2 separate regions of the Homo sapiens genome follow, and region 1 is linked to region 2. Evidence: promoter capture Hi-C in human tissues and cell types (Jung and others, 2019). All regions are on one chromosome and are shown on one strand. Each heading gives the region's core, a stretch centred on a gene start or on the middle of the fragment in contact. The rest is flanking DNA. Distances are from core to core; before and after follow the strand shown.

Region 1 (6,176 bases), core at 832-3,331, 340 kb before region 2:
GAGGCAGAGGTTGCAATGAGCCAAGATCACACCACTGCACTCCACCTGGGTGACAGAGGGAGGCTCCGTCTCAAAAAAAAAAAAAAAAAATTATCTGGCCCAAATTGTCAATGGTGCCAGGGTTGAAGAACCTTGTTTTAGACCTCGGCTGGCATGTGGAAAGCCAGCCAGGCTGCTCTGAGGAGGCGCTGAGAAACTGAGGAGTGGCTTGGAGACCCCTGCCCTGCCCTATCAAAGAAGCTTCCTGGCCATGTCTTGGACCTGGCTGGAATCTGATTCCCTCCACACCTCGTCCACACCTCTATTACACTGGGCACTGCTCCAACTGAGTCATCTCTGCTCAGGTCAGCTTCCTCCTTGGACTGGGGGACTGTGTCTGATTCATCTCTGTTCACCCTTAAGTCCCTAACACAGGCCTGGCTCATAGCCCACATAAGTGAAAGTGCTGGCTGGAATGTGCCAGGCAGGGAAAACAAGCCTCACAGGATATGTCTGCTCTTTCTCTTCCTGGCGGGTCTATCCCAGTGAACTAGAGCTGAACCAGACCCTCTTAGCAGGCCCAAGAGCCACTTACCAGAGTGGGAGAGGATGTGGGCCTTCAGCTTGTCCGGCCGGTTGAACTCCTTACTGCAGCCTGTGTGCGTCCTAAAACCCAAAGCCACTGGTCAGGGGGAGCTCACCAAGCTTAGGATCCTCTTGCTGGCCCCTCCACTAGCCCTGGGCACAAGGGACAGCCTTGTCCACCCTAAGGGCTGGGCAAGGAGGTAGGGTGGGAAGTGAGGCAGGCAGGGCCCAGGACAGGATAAAAGGAGAGAGGCCTGGCCAGGCACAGTGGCTCACGCCTGTAATCTCAGCACTTTGGGAGGCCGAGGTGGATGGATCACTTGCGGTCAGGAGCTCGAGACCAGCCTAGGCAACATGGCGAAACTCCATCTCTACTAAATCTGTAATCTCAGCTACTTGGGAAGCCGAGGCAAGAGAATCGCTTGAACCCAGAAGGCAGAGGTTGCAGTGAGACAAGATCTTACCACTGCACTCCAGCCTGGATGACAGAGTGAGACTATGTCTCCAAAAAAAAAAAAAAGGAGAGGCCTGCCCTCAGGCCTGACATCTGTCCCACCCTCCCCAGCAGCACCCCTGGAGAATCTGTCCCGCTACCCACCCCCCTGCATGGCAGTCTCTACTCACGAGAAAGGGCATTTGTATTTCTTGAAGGGCTCGTGGATCAACATGTGTCTCTTCAGTTTGTCCTTGCGGTTGAACGCAGACTCGCACACTGAGCATTTGTAGGGCTTCTCACCTGCAGCAGACACAGACAGGGAGAGCCAGCACTCACCAGGAGTCGGCATCCAGGGCACAAGGGTCCCCGCTGGGCCCCTCAGGGGAGCAGCTCCTCTAGGGAGGTGGCCAGGGGAGAAAATAGCCTCTCTCATTCTTCAGTGGCTTTGTTTTGCCAGAGACAAGACAGGGCTATTTTGACAGGATGGTCAGGAGAGGCCTCTCTGATGAGGCCATGCATGAGGAGAGACCTCAGGTCATCAGGGAGATGGTCTGGGCAGCAGGGAAAGCAGGTACAAAGGCCCTGAGGCAGGAGTGCGTTTGGCGGTGCTGATGAACAACAGGGAGGCTGGTGTGGCCAGAGAACAAGGCAGAAGGTGAGGGCAGCGAGCCAGCCAGGTCCGCATGGGAGGACCTGGGAGGCAGAGCTAAGGACTTGGCTTTTATTTATTTATTTTTTTTGAGACAGAGCCTTGCTCTGTCACCCAGGCTGGAGTGCAGTGGCAAGATTTCAGGTGAGTCACTGCAACCTCTGCCTTCTGGGTTCAAGCAATCCTCCTACCTCAGCCTCCTGAGTAGATGGGATTACAGGTGTGTGCCACCACGCCCAGCTAATTTTTGTATTTTTAGTAGAGATGGGGGGTTTCACCATGTTGGCCAGGCTGGTCTCGAACTCCTGACCTCAAGTGATCCACCTGCCTTGGCCTCCCAAAGTGCTGGGATTACAGGCATGAGCCACCGCGCCCAGCCAGGACTTTGGCTTTTACTCTGAGCCAGAAGAGAAGCACCAGAAGGTCTGAACAGCAGAGGGATGGACTCTGATGTAAGCTTTTAACCAGCTCGAATGAGGGTGGAGGTGAGGATAACCAGGAAGTGGCCCAGGACAGCCATGTTGGGAAGGCACAGTCGGCAGCCCTTGCCACTGGACTGGCTGTGACTGTGAGAGGAGGAGAGGAGTCAAGGATGAGGCACGGCCTGAGAAGCAAGGTGGCCTCATGTCATTTCTGGCAATGCGGTCCACCCTGGGGGACGAGGAATCACACCTTATCTAACTGAATCCTTCCAAAAAACCAGGAGGCACTGACTCCCATCATCCCTGTTTCACAGATAAGAAAGAAGACTGAAGTTCAGAGAGGTGAAGGGACTGGCTCAGGGGCTACCCCTATGGTTGCGGGAGCTAAGATTCCAGCCCAGCAGCGTGATCCAGAGCCCATCTGAGCTACCCAGATCTTCCTGCTGTTAAACCCGTCCTGGGGCAGCTCTTGCCTGATGGGCTACCTGAGGAACCCACAGGAAATCAAGGGAGGTGCCTGCAAAGTTGCCGTGGGGTCACAGCCTGCCCTTTGGAAGGGGCTGTTTCTGGGCTGCTGTGACTTCCTGCCATTATTTCCTCTCTGTTCTCCCTCTGGAATGAATAAAGTACTTCTGAAAAACCATCAACCCAGTCGATACGGAAATGCTGGTCCCTACAATAGAATGCTCTGTGGTCATTAAAAAGATTAAAAAGGTCAATCTGTGTTTCCTGATCTGGAAAGATCTCCTGGACATACTGCTAGTGGGGAAAGAAAGCAGTAGAACAGCTTAACACAATCTCGTCTTTCTTAGAAAAAAATATAATCCCTACTGGATATGTAAGCTCCAACAAAAAAAAAAGAAAGAAAAAATACAACCTGCACACCCCAAAAAAGCCCTGGCCATGTGTCTCTGTAAATAAACTGAAGATGCAGGAAGAAAGATGGGGAGGTGTAGGGAAAGGACAGACCAAAGTGTCAGTGGCAACTACAACTTGAAGGGGAAATTTAACATTTTACTTTATGTACTCCTATATTGTTTCCATTTTTATAATAACCATGTATTATTTGTGTGGTTTTTTTTGTTTTGTTTTGTTTCGTTTTTTGTATTTTTTTTTTTTTTTTTGAAACAGAGTCTTGCTCTGTTGCCCAGGCTGGAGTGCAGTGGTTTGATCTTGGCTCACTGCAACCTCCATCTCCTGGGTTCAGGCAATTCTCCTGCCTCAGCCTCCTGAGTAGCTGGGATCACAGGTGCGTACCACCACACCCGGCTAATTTTTGTATTTTTAGTAGAGACGGGGTTTCATCACGTTGGCCAGGCTGGTCTCAAACTCTTGACCTAGGTGCTCCACCCACCTTCACCTTCCAAAGTGCTGAGATTACAGGCATGAGCCACCGCGCCTGGCAGCATGTATTACTTTTGAATAATAATTTTTAAAAGCCATAAAGAGCAATTTGGTAATATCAAACTTACAATGCATTACTTCTTTTCCCTTCTTTATTGTGGAGAAATATACATAACAGAAAATTGACCATCTTAAGCTTCTTTTAAGTGTATAGTTCAGTGGCATAAGTACATTTGCACCATCATGCAACCATCACCATCATCTGTCTCTAGAATTTTTTCATCATCCCAAACTGAAACTCAGTATTACACATGCATTTTAACCTAGCATTTCCACTCCTAAGAATATACACTACAGATACACTTCCAAAAGCTTGCCAAGGGACCCACACAGCATTGTGTGTACAAACTAATAGCTGAAATGTAATTTAACGGTTCATACATAGGCTGGGCGTGATGGCTCATGCCTGTAATCCCAGCACTTTGGGAGGCTGGGGCGGGGGGATCACTTGAGGTCAGGAGTTCGAGACCAGCCTGGCCAACATGGTGAAACCACATATCTACTAAAAATACAAAAATTAGCTGGGCGTGATGGTGCACACCTGTAATCCCAGCTACTTGGAAGGCTAAGGCAGGAGAATTGCTTGAACTCAGGCGGCAGAGGTTGCAGTGAACCAAGATCGTGCCATTCAGTCTCAAAAAAAAAAAAAAAAAAAAAAAAGGTTCATACATAGAGAACTGGCTAAATACAAGATGAAAAATTCATTGAGGAAGACTACTCAGATGTGAAAAAGAAGGTGCTGTTGGTAACAACTTCTGGGGGGGGCCCGGGGGAGGGGGACCCACAGAATTTAGCCTCCAGGGGAACTGTAAGCACACATTCCTTGGGGAACATCGCCAAGGTATATGATAAGGAAAAAAAGGCACATAAGTTATAGTATGTGCTCATTTTTGCAAACGTAAGCAAGCGTTTTATATATGTGTAAAATAAAACTAGAAGAATGCAGACTAGACCGCTAACAGTTACCTTTGGGGAAGAGAATTAGGAGTATTTTGCAAACTGCAAACCACAAGTTACACCCTGTTGGTGGTTATTTTAAGAATTAAAAATAGGCTGGGTGTGGTGGCTTGCATCTGTAATCCCAGCACTTTGAGAGGCCAAGGTGGGTGGGTAACCTGAGGCCAGGAGTTTGAGACCATCTTGGCCAACATGGTGAAACCCCGTCTCTACTGAAAATACAGAAATTAGCCAGGCATGTGGTGGGCGCCTGTAATCCCAGCTACTCGGGAGGCTGAGGCACGAGAATGGCTTGAACCTGGGAGGCGGAGGTTGTAGTGAGATCATACCATTGCACTCCAGCCTGGGTGACAGAGTGAGACCCTGTCTCAAAATAAAAATAAAAAATAAAAAAACTAAAATTGAAAAGGACAAAATAGAAAACACTGTTTTGTAAAACTTTTGTTGCAATACATCCTATGTGTGCTTCCTGGGTTGCAATATGAAATGTATTTTTTACCATAGGTCGTAGGAAAGAAAAAAAAGGAAAAACATTGGATTGTCCATCTGAAGTGAGAGGGAGTTTATTTTTTTATATATGCTTTTGTCCCGTCAAGGATTTTCCCTCAAGTTTTCTCAATCTTTAGATCCTTTTCAATTAAAAAGCAATTAAAAAATTTAACTAATAAAAAAATCTAAAGATTAATAGAAAAGAAAATGTCAGTGTGTTTCAACTGGGGAACCAAGGAGATGGCGTTTTGTTCAGGTTTGAGTGGGAACTTACAGTGAGAGCAGTGTCCCCACCACAGGGGGCAGAGTCAAGAGTCCCTCACACAGGCTGGGTGCAGTGCCTCACGCCTGTCATCCCAGCACTTTGGGAGGCCGAGGCAGGAGGATCACCTGAGGTCAGGAGTTCGAAACCAGCCTGGCCAACATGGCAAAACCCTGTTTCTACTAAAAATACAAAAAACTAGCTGGACATGGTGGTGGGAGCCTGTAATCCCAGCTACTCAGGAGGCTGAGGCAGGAGAATCACTTGAACCCGGGAGGCAGAGGTTGCAGTGAGCCAAGATCTGCCACCGCACTCCAGCCTGGGCAACAAGAGCGAGACTTTGTCTCAAAGAAAAAAAAAAAAAGAATAAAAAGTCCCTTCCACACAACCTCCAGGGGCTCTTCTCTGCTTTAGCGGTGGTGGGAATCCCTTGTTCATGAATTAAGGCAGGTGGATCAGGGGCCAGGAAGGAGAGAGGAAGGAGGAGCAAGGGGAGAGGCAGGAGGGCTGGAGGGAGACAGACAGCGACAGAGAGGAGGGGGAGGGGGCTGGAGGGAGAGGGGAGAGGACAGGGGAGGGAGGCTGGAGGGGGCTAGAAGGAGATGGGGAGAGGGAGGGGAAGGGAGGCTAGAGGGAGATGGGAAGGAGGAGGGAGAAGGGGGCTGCAGGGAGATGGGGAAGAAGAGGGAGATGGGGAGGGTGAGGGAGATGGGGGGGAGAGAGATGGAGAGAGGGAGGGAGATGGGGGAGGGGGAAGGAGATGGGGAGAGGGAGGGAGGTGAGGAGGCGGAGGGAGGGGGGAGGGAGAGGAGTAGGGAGAGGGAGAGGGGAAAGGAAATGGGGAAGAGGAGGGAGAAGGGTGCTGGAGGGAGATGGGGAGGAGGAAGGAGATGGGGAGGAGGAGGGAGATGGGGAGGAGGAGGGAGACGGGGGCTGAGAGAGATGAGGGGAGGGACTGAGTGAGATGGGGAGGGAGATGGAGAAGTGGAGGGA
Region 2 (6,121 bases), core at 1,842-4,341:
GTGTATCTATCTGGGAGGCCAATTTCTGAGCCACAGCAGAGAGGCATCGGCTGACCACAGTGTAGGGATAGAGCATTCCTGCAGCTACAGGGTTCTTGGGGGTAGCTACAGGTGATTGGCACTGCCTATCAAGTGTGATCACAAACACACACACCCATACTCACATACAGACGTATACATATGCATACACACGTCACTGTTTCCTTGGCTCTACATCTTCTTTCTGTGTTAGCCCCTTTGCACACATCACTCCTTTCCCTACTTCCTTCCTTCCTGTTATATCCACAGGAAACTGTCCCCCAGAGGAGAAGCCCTCTCTTAGGGCTCTTTCTCAGTAAGTTTGTCTGGGCCTCATTAAGTCTTTTTTAAGCAGGGCAGTACGTGGGGGGACTTTTAAGGATCTGGTTCCAGGCTTTGGTCTTGGGAAAGGAGCTTCAATTCCCTGCTGGTCTCTTGCCTCCTGCCAGGTCTGTCCTCCCCTCCCTTCTCTACCATTGGAGTGAAGCTTCCACAAGCCAAGTAGGCTGTAGTTATTTATCACAAGTGCTTACCCCAAATTCCTCAGGCTGTCCTACAATCTTTAAGCACAGTCATACTTTTAAGATATCAATGCTTATATACAATGCTATATTCCTTCCCTGCCTCCCTTCTCTCCTTCCTTCCTCTCACTTTCTTTTATTTATTTTTGAGACAGGGTCTTGCTCTGTCACCCAGGCTGGAGTGCAGTGGCATGATTGTGGCTCACAGCAGCAGCCTCAAACAGGCCTCCTGCTGCAGCTTCCTAAGTAGCTGGGAGTACAGGTGCACATTACCACGCTTGGCTAATTTCTTTATTTTGTAGAGATGGAGTCTCGTGAAGTTGCCCAAGTGGTCTCAAACTCCTAGCCTCAAGTGATCATTCCTCCTCGGCATCCCATATATATATGTATAAAAGACCCTGGGTTCTTTTTTTAAAACCTGTGTCTCTCCTGTTTTGACACCTACCACTCTAACTTAAAACAATTCCTTTTTTTTGTTGTTGGTTTTTTTTTTTTTTTTTTTTGAGACGGAGTCTCACCCTATCACCCAGGCTGGAGTGCAGTGGTGCAATCTCTGCTTGCTGCAATCTCCGCCTCCCGGGTTCAAGTGATTCTCCTGCCTCAGCCTCCTGAGTAGCTGGGATTATAGGTGTCTGCCACCACGCCCGGCTAATTTTTTTATATTTTTAGTAGAGATGGGGTTTCACCATGTTGGCCAGGCTGAGTCTCAAACTCCTGACCTCGTGATCTACCTGCCTCGGCCTCCTAAAGTGCTGGGATTACAGGCATGAGCCACCATACCTGGCCCCCTCTTTTTTTTCTTGATGGTATCTTATGTGGAGGATTTTACCCAAAAGTTCAGGGAGGCTAAACACTGGTGTAGTCCTACTTATTTATTGCTCAACATATCCCAGCTAGGAATGGAGGATAGAGACAAGGAGCAGGTATGAAGGCCAGTTGAGCTGTGTGATGTGGTGGATTTTTCAGATTACAATCATGCTTTACCTCTGTATTTGTCAGCTGTCTAGCAGAGTGGTTCAGTGCCCAGGCACTGGTGTCAAACAGGCCTGGGTTTGAATCGCAGCTCTTCCTCACTCATAAATGTGTGACCTAGGCCAATTAGACTAAATCCAAGTTTTCCCTTCTGTATAATAGGGGTGCTCTTTTTTCTTGCTCTGTCACCAAGGCTGGAGTGTGATGGTGCAATCACAGCTCACTGCAGCCTGGACCTCCAAGGCTCAAGCGATCCTGCCACCTCAGCTGTGATTACAGGTGTGAGCCACTGTGCCCAGCTGGGGGTGCTCTTAGCTACTCCAGGAGGCTAATGTAAAGATAACACTTGGAAAATATTCTGCCAGCCCTAGGTAAGAGTAAGCATTCACTAAATGAAAGTGATTATTTCTATAGAATAGGGAGTCACAGTTTACCACGTGTTTTCACATTGATTTAATCCTCACACCAGCCCAGTGAAGTAGGTATTATTATGATCCACATTTTACAGATGAGGAAATTGAGGCCTAGAGCAGTGACGTGAGGGGACCAAAGTCGACTTGGAGCTAACAGAGGCAGCAAAGATTAGAAACCATGTCTCCAGTCGCCCAGACCCAGAGCCCCACCTTGCAACCCTCTTCCCACACACCAGTTCTGTTTTTTTTCTGCCAGGCCTCAAAGTGTGGGACTTCAGGCTTTTCTATACTCGACTGTGAACACAGCCAGGGGTTAATCTCTTAAACTTCCCTCCAGTTTTGAAGTGGGGATCCTGCCCACACCTCCCCCAAGCCCTAAGCGGTGTCGGTAGCGGTCTCCTCCAGGGGGCGGGGCCTGTCATCTTTAGAAGCCACGCCAGCGATAAGCCACGCCCACAGACCAAAGCCTCGACCCCCACCCCCCATCCCCCGCCCTCCCCGATAGGAAACCAACTTCTTCCTCAGCTCCCCAACTAGCAACTGTGCCCGCAAGGTCTCTCGCGGCTCAGCATCTACCTTTTTTTTTTTTTTTTTTTTTTGACACAGGGTTTCGCTCTGTCACCCAGGCTGGAGTGCAGTGGCGCGATCGCGGCTTACTGCAGCCTCGAGCTTCTGGGCTGTCATCTAGGCCTCCCAAAGTGTTGGGATTACAGGCGTGAGCCTCCACGCCCAGACGGTGTCTACCTCTTAAACTCAAGCCTTGGAGTCCAACGCTCTACCATACGCAGCCCAGCCCTCCGCCATATGCAGCCCAGCCCGATGCCCAGTGCTTCGCACCAGGATACGTGGTTCTGTCTCTTTTTCATGCGCTCCCACGTCCGGGAGTTACAGTCCCGGCCCTCGATGGGCATTCCGAGCGCCGAGCCCCCTGCGCGGGCTCACTGGGTTCCGCCCCCGACGCGAAGCCCCGCCCCCTGACGCCCCGCCCAGCACCACGCCTCCCGGGCTTTCGCCTTACTTAGTGGCCCGCCCCGCCGCCCTTCTGACCCACCCCGCTAGGTAGTCCCACACGGCGGCCCTCGGCTCCCGGGCCCCGCCCCGGCCTCCTGCATTTGCCCGAGGCCCCCTCCCCAGCACTGGCCACACCCCAGGGTAGCCCCGCCCCCAGAGCTCCTCCCCCAGCGGCCGGGGTAGGGTGGCGGCTGGCCCAGCCGGGCCCCCGCTGCCCTCTGCCCTGGGCGCTTGGTCGGAGCGGGCTGGGCAAAGCGGGACAGGGCGAGCGCGGCGGCCCGGGGGCTCGGAGGCGAAGATGGCGTCCGGCAGGCGCGCCCCGCGCACCGGGCTGCTGGAGCTGCGCGCCGGGGCGGGCTCGGGGGCCGGCGGCGAGCGATGGCAGCGGGTGCTGCTGAGTCTGGCGGAGGACGTGCTGACCGTGAGCCCCGCCGACGGCGACCCTGGTCCCGAGCCCGGCGCTCCGCGGGAGCAGGAGCCCGCGCAGCTCAACGGCGCCGCGGAGCCGGGCGCCGGGCCCCCGCAGCTGCCAGAGGCGCTACTGCTCCAGCGGCGCCGCGTGACGGTGCGCAAGGCCGACGCCGGTGGGCTGGGCATCAGCATCAAAGGTGGGCGCGGGACACCGAGGGCGCGGGGTCGTGGTGTCTGGGGGCAGCCGAGGGCGCAGGGGGCTGGCAGCGCGCCCAGGACATGGAGCTGGAGGCTTCCTGTCTGGGGGTAAGGGGGGTCTGAGGAAACAGGTAACGGAGGGCACTGGGCACACCAAGGTTGGAGGGGGTTTCAGTAGTTGGTGGCCTTAGGGGGCACGGAAGACACAGGTGTGGATAAGATTGTGGGAGCACCAAGGACACGTGGGTGGGAGTTCTGTGTGGAGGCGGGGGGGTCTGAGGGGTAACCAGCATGAACATCAAGGACAAGAGGGGTCCCCCGGAAAGCAGAGTGTGGAGAAAGGGGGTTGAGGCCGGGACACCAGTGGGACAGGGAGGAGGGAGTCCCTGAGAAGCAACCAAGGTGGGTGCAGAGGGGAAGCCTGGAGTCTGGGAAGCACAGGGGTGGATAGGAGGCCTGGGTGCAGGCACAGGCTGGGGTCACAGGCAGAAGGCCAGCAAGGACCTAGGAATCTAAGGACCCAGGAAGGCTGCAGGGAGCCCTGACAGCTGGATTTGGGTCTCCTGATCTGACTATCTCCACCTTGCACAGGATAGAGCTTTCAGCCCCCAGGACTGACCGCTAGTGGGGTGCAGTTAGGGTGCAACCAGACTGTGTTTGAATCCAGGATCAGCTGTGTGAGGTTGCAAAAGTCCCGTCCCGCCTCTGAATCTGTTTCCTCAACTGTATAAGAGGATGACAGAGTTGTGATGTTTCTGAGAGCAGGGCTCACCACACCAGCACACTGTAGGTGCCTAGTTAATTACTGCTGTTAGCGGAGAGGAAAAATGGAGGCCAGCAGATACTCCCAAAGCAACTAAACATAGTTGTTAAAATCCTTGCACACCCCCAGCTGCTGGGTTCACTATTCCTGCCCATCTGTTTCTCAGGGTCCCAGCCCCCAGCAGGTGCTTTGGGAAAGGGTATCAGCCTTTGTCTCCACCTTGAATACATACCGTACCCTCTGGGGTCTCCCTGGTACTGGTTCTGTTGACTAGTGCCTCCAGACCGTTTGGCTTGGCTGAGGCGGTGGGGATGGTGGTGAATGCCACCACTGTGTGCCAGGTGCTGTGCCCAGGACACTAGTCTCATGATCCACTTCATCCTGGCAACAAGTGGTGAAAGGTAGGGAGTATAATTCCCATATTGCAGGTGAAGAAACTGAGACTCAGAAAGTTAAAATGATTTTCCCACGATTACATAGTGAGTGTCAGTGCTGGGATTTGAACCTTAATTATCAGCTACTGTCCCTCAGAGAGTGCTCAGGGAAGTTGATTCTTTCCTGTAGAAGGGCAGATCCCCAGGCAGCCAACCAAGAGGGGCTAAAAAGGAGAAATGAGAAAATGAGGGTATGGGCACCAGTCTTACCCCCAATCTCCAGCATGGGATAGGGCAACAGATGAATCCAAAAATTATACACTCAGTGTGTCAAAGCAGGAAGGAACTTATTCATACAGAATTCCATTCTGCAGATGGACACACTGAGACTCAGAGAGGAGCAGGGACTTTGCAAGGTCACACAAAGTTACTCCCCAGCTCCATAATTCTAGGTGGAGGGGAGGGTACTTTTAGGAGACTTCAGGTATTTCCATTGGATCCAAATCTGGGCTCCTGTTGCCATGGTAACCCCTCCTATAAAGTCTAGCTTAGTCTGAGGCAGCCATGAGTGATCATAGCTTCAAACTGAACTGAAGCCCCTAGTTTCAGGTGGGGGAGGGCAGATATAAATAGAAACCCCTTCCTCTCCTAGACTTCAAGCTCTGTGCAGATAAGCAAACGGTCGGGCCTGTGTGGGCGTCAAGAGAGGTGTTCCAGTCCCAGCTCCGCCACCAGACTTGTGTGACCTTGGAACAATGACCTCCCACTCTGGGCCACTAATTCTTCATCTTCAGTATTCTGGGGATGAGCCAGGAGTGTGATATCTGAGGGCCTGACTTGTCGTCTGTGGTAGGGCTAATAGTGTTGGTTCTGGAGCCTGGAGGCCTAGGTGCAAATACTGGCTTCGCTACTTACTAGTGGAGTGACCTTGGACAAGGGGCTTCCCTCCACACTTCAGTTTCCCTAATAGGAAACTGAACATACCTATGTGATGGGGTATTGTAAAGACGCAATGAATCAACATTGAAAGCATTTAGCACAGTGCTTGGCATTTGGTAAGTGCAACTAAGGTGAACTCTTATTACTATTTCTTATTTTAAAAGGGCATTTAAGAGTTTGGTAATAAAGATGTTTAGTAAAATGTATTAGCTTCTTTTGTATCCAAGATGCCATTCAGGCAGGTTTTTAGAATCTCTAGACTCTAAGGCTTTGGTTTCCAGCCTGGACTTTGGATTGTAAAACATTATGATTGCTAAAGCAGTCTTTTGAGGCCATAGGAATAGCCGACTTGTCTCTTGATTCCGGTTTGAGGGGTATCAGTGGGTTCCCACATTGTTGCCTTTTTGTGTGTGTGTGTGAGACAGTCTTGCTCTGTTGCCCAGGGTGGAGTGCAGTGGTGCGATCTCGGCTCACTGCAATCTCCACCTCCTGGGTTCAAGC

Evidence for each region. The method cuts DNA at HindIII sites, captures the fragments that hold promoters and counts their contacts. A contact is called where the count stands out against the background at its distance.
Region 1: a fragment that was not itself captured here is called in contact with the fragment with the promoter of SNTA1 in region 2 in 1 of the 25 tissues and cell types used here (H1 embryonic stem cells).

Annotation. Positions count from the first base shown.
Region 1 is chr20:33,783,987-33,790,162 of GRCh38, reverse strand. ZNF341 (zinc finger protein 341) reads right to left here. Exons shown (of 15, transcript NM_001282933.2): 13 at 1,189-1,300; 14 at 575-645. ZNF341-AS1 (ZNF341 antisense RNA 1) reads left to right here. Exons shown (of 4, transcript NR_110623.1): 4 at 2,386-2,790. Among named protein-coding and RNA genes, the nearest start is that of ZNF341-AS1, 24 kb to the left of the region's middle. RefSeq lists a silencer at 4,437-4,486. The HindIII fragment of the contact is 3,237 bases long and covers 463-3,699 here.
Region 2 is chr20:33,440,733-33,446,853 of GRCh38, reverse strand. SNTA1 (syntrophin alpha 1) reads left to right here and starts at 3,091. Exons shown (of 8, transcript NM_003098.3): 1 at 3,091-3,543. The coding sequence starts at 3,234. RefSeq lists enhancers at 2,086-2,145, 2,117-2,617, 2,596-2,665 and silencers at 2,896-3,375, 3,486-3,545. The HindIII fragment of the contact is 21,074 bases long and covers 1-6,121 here.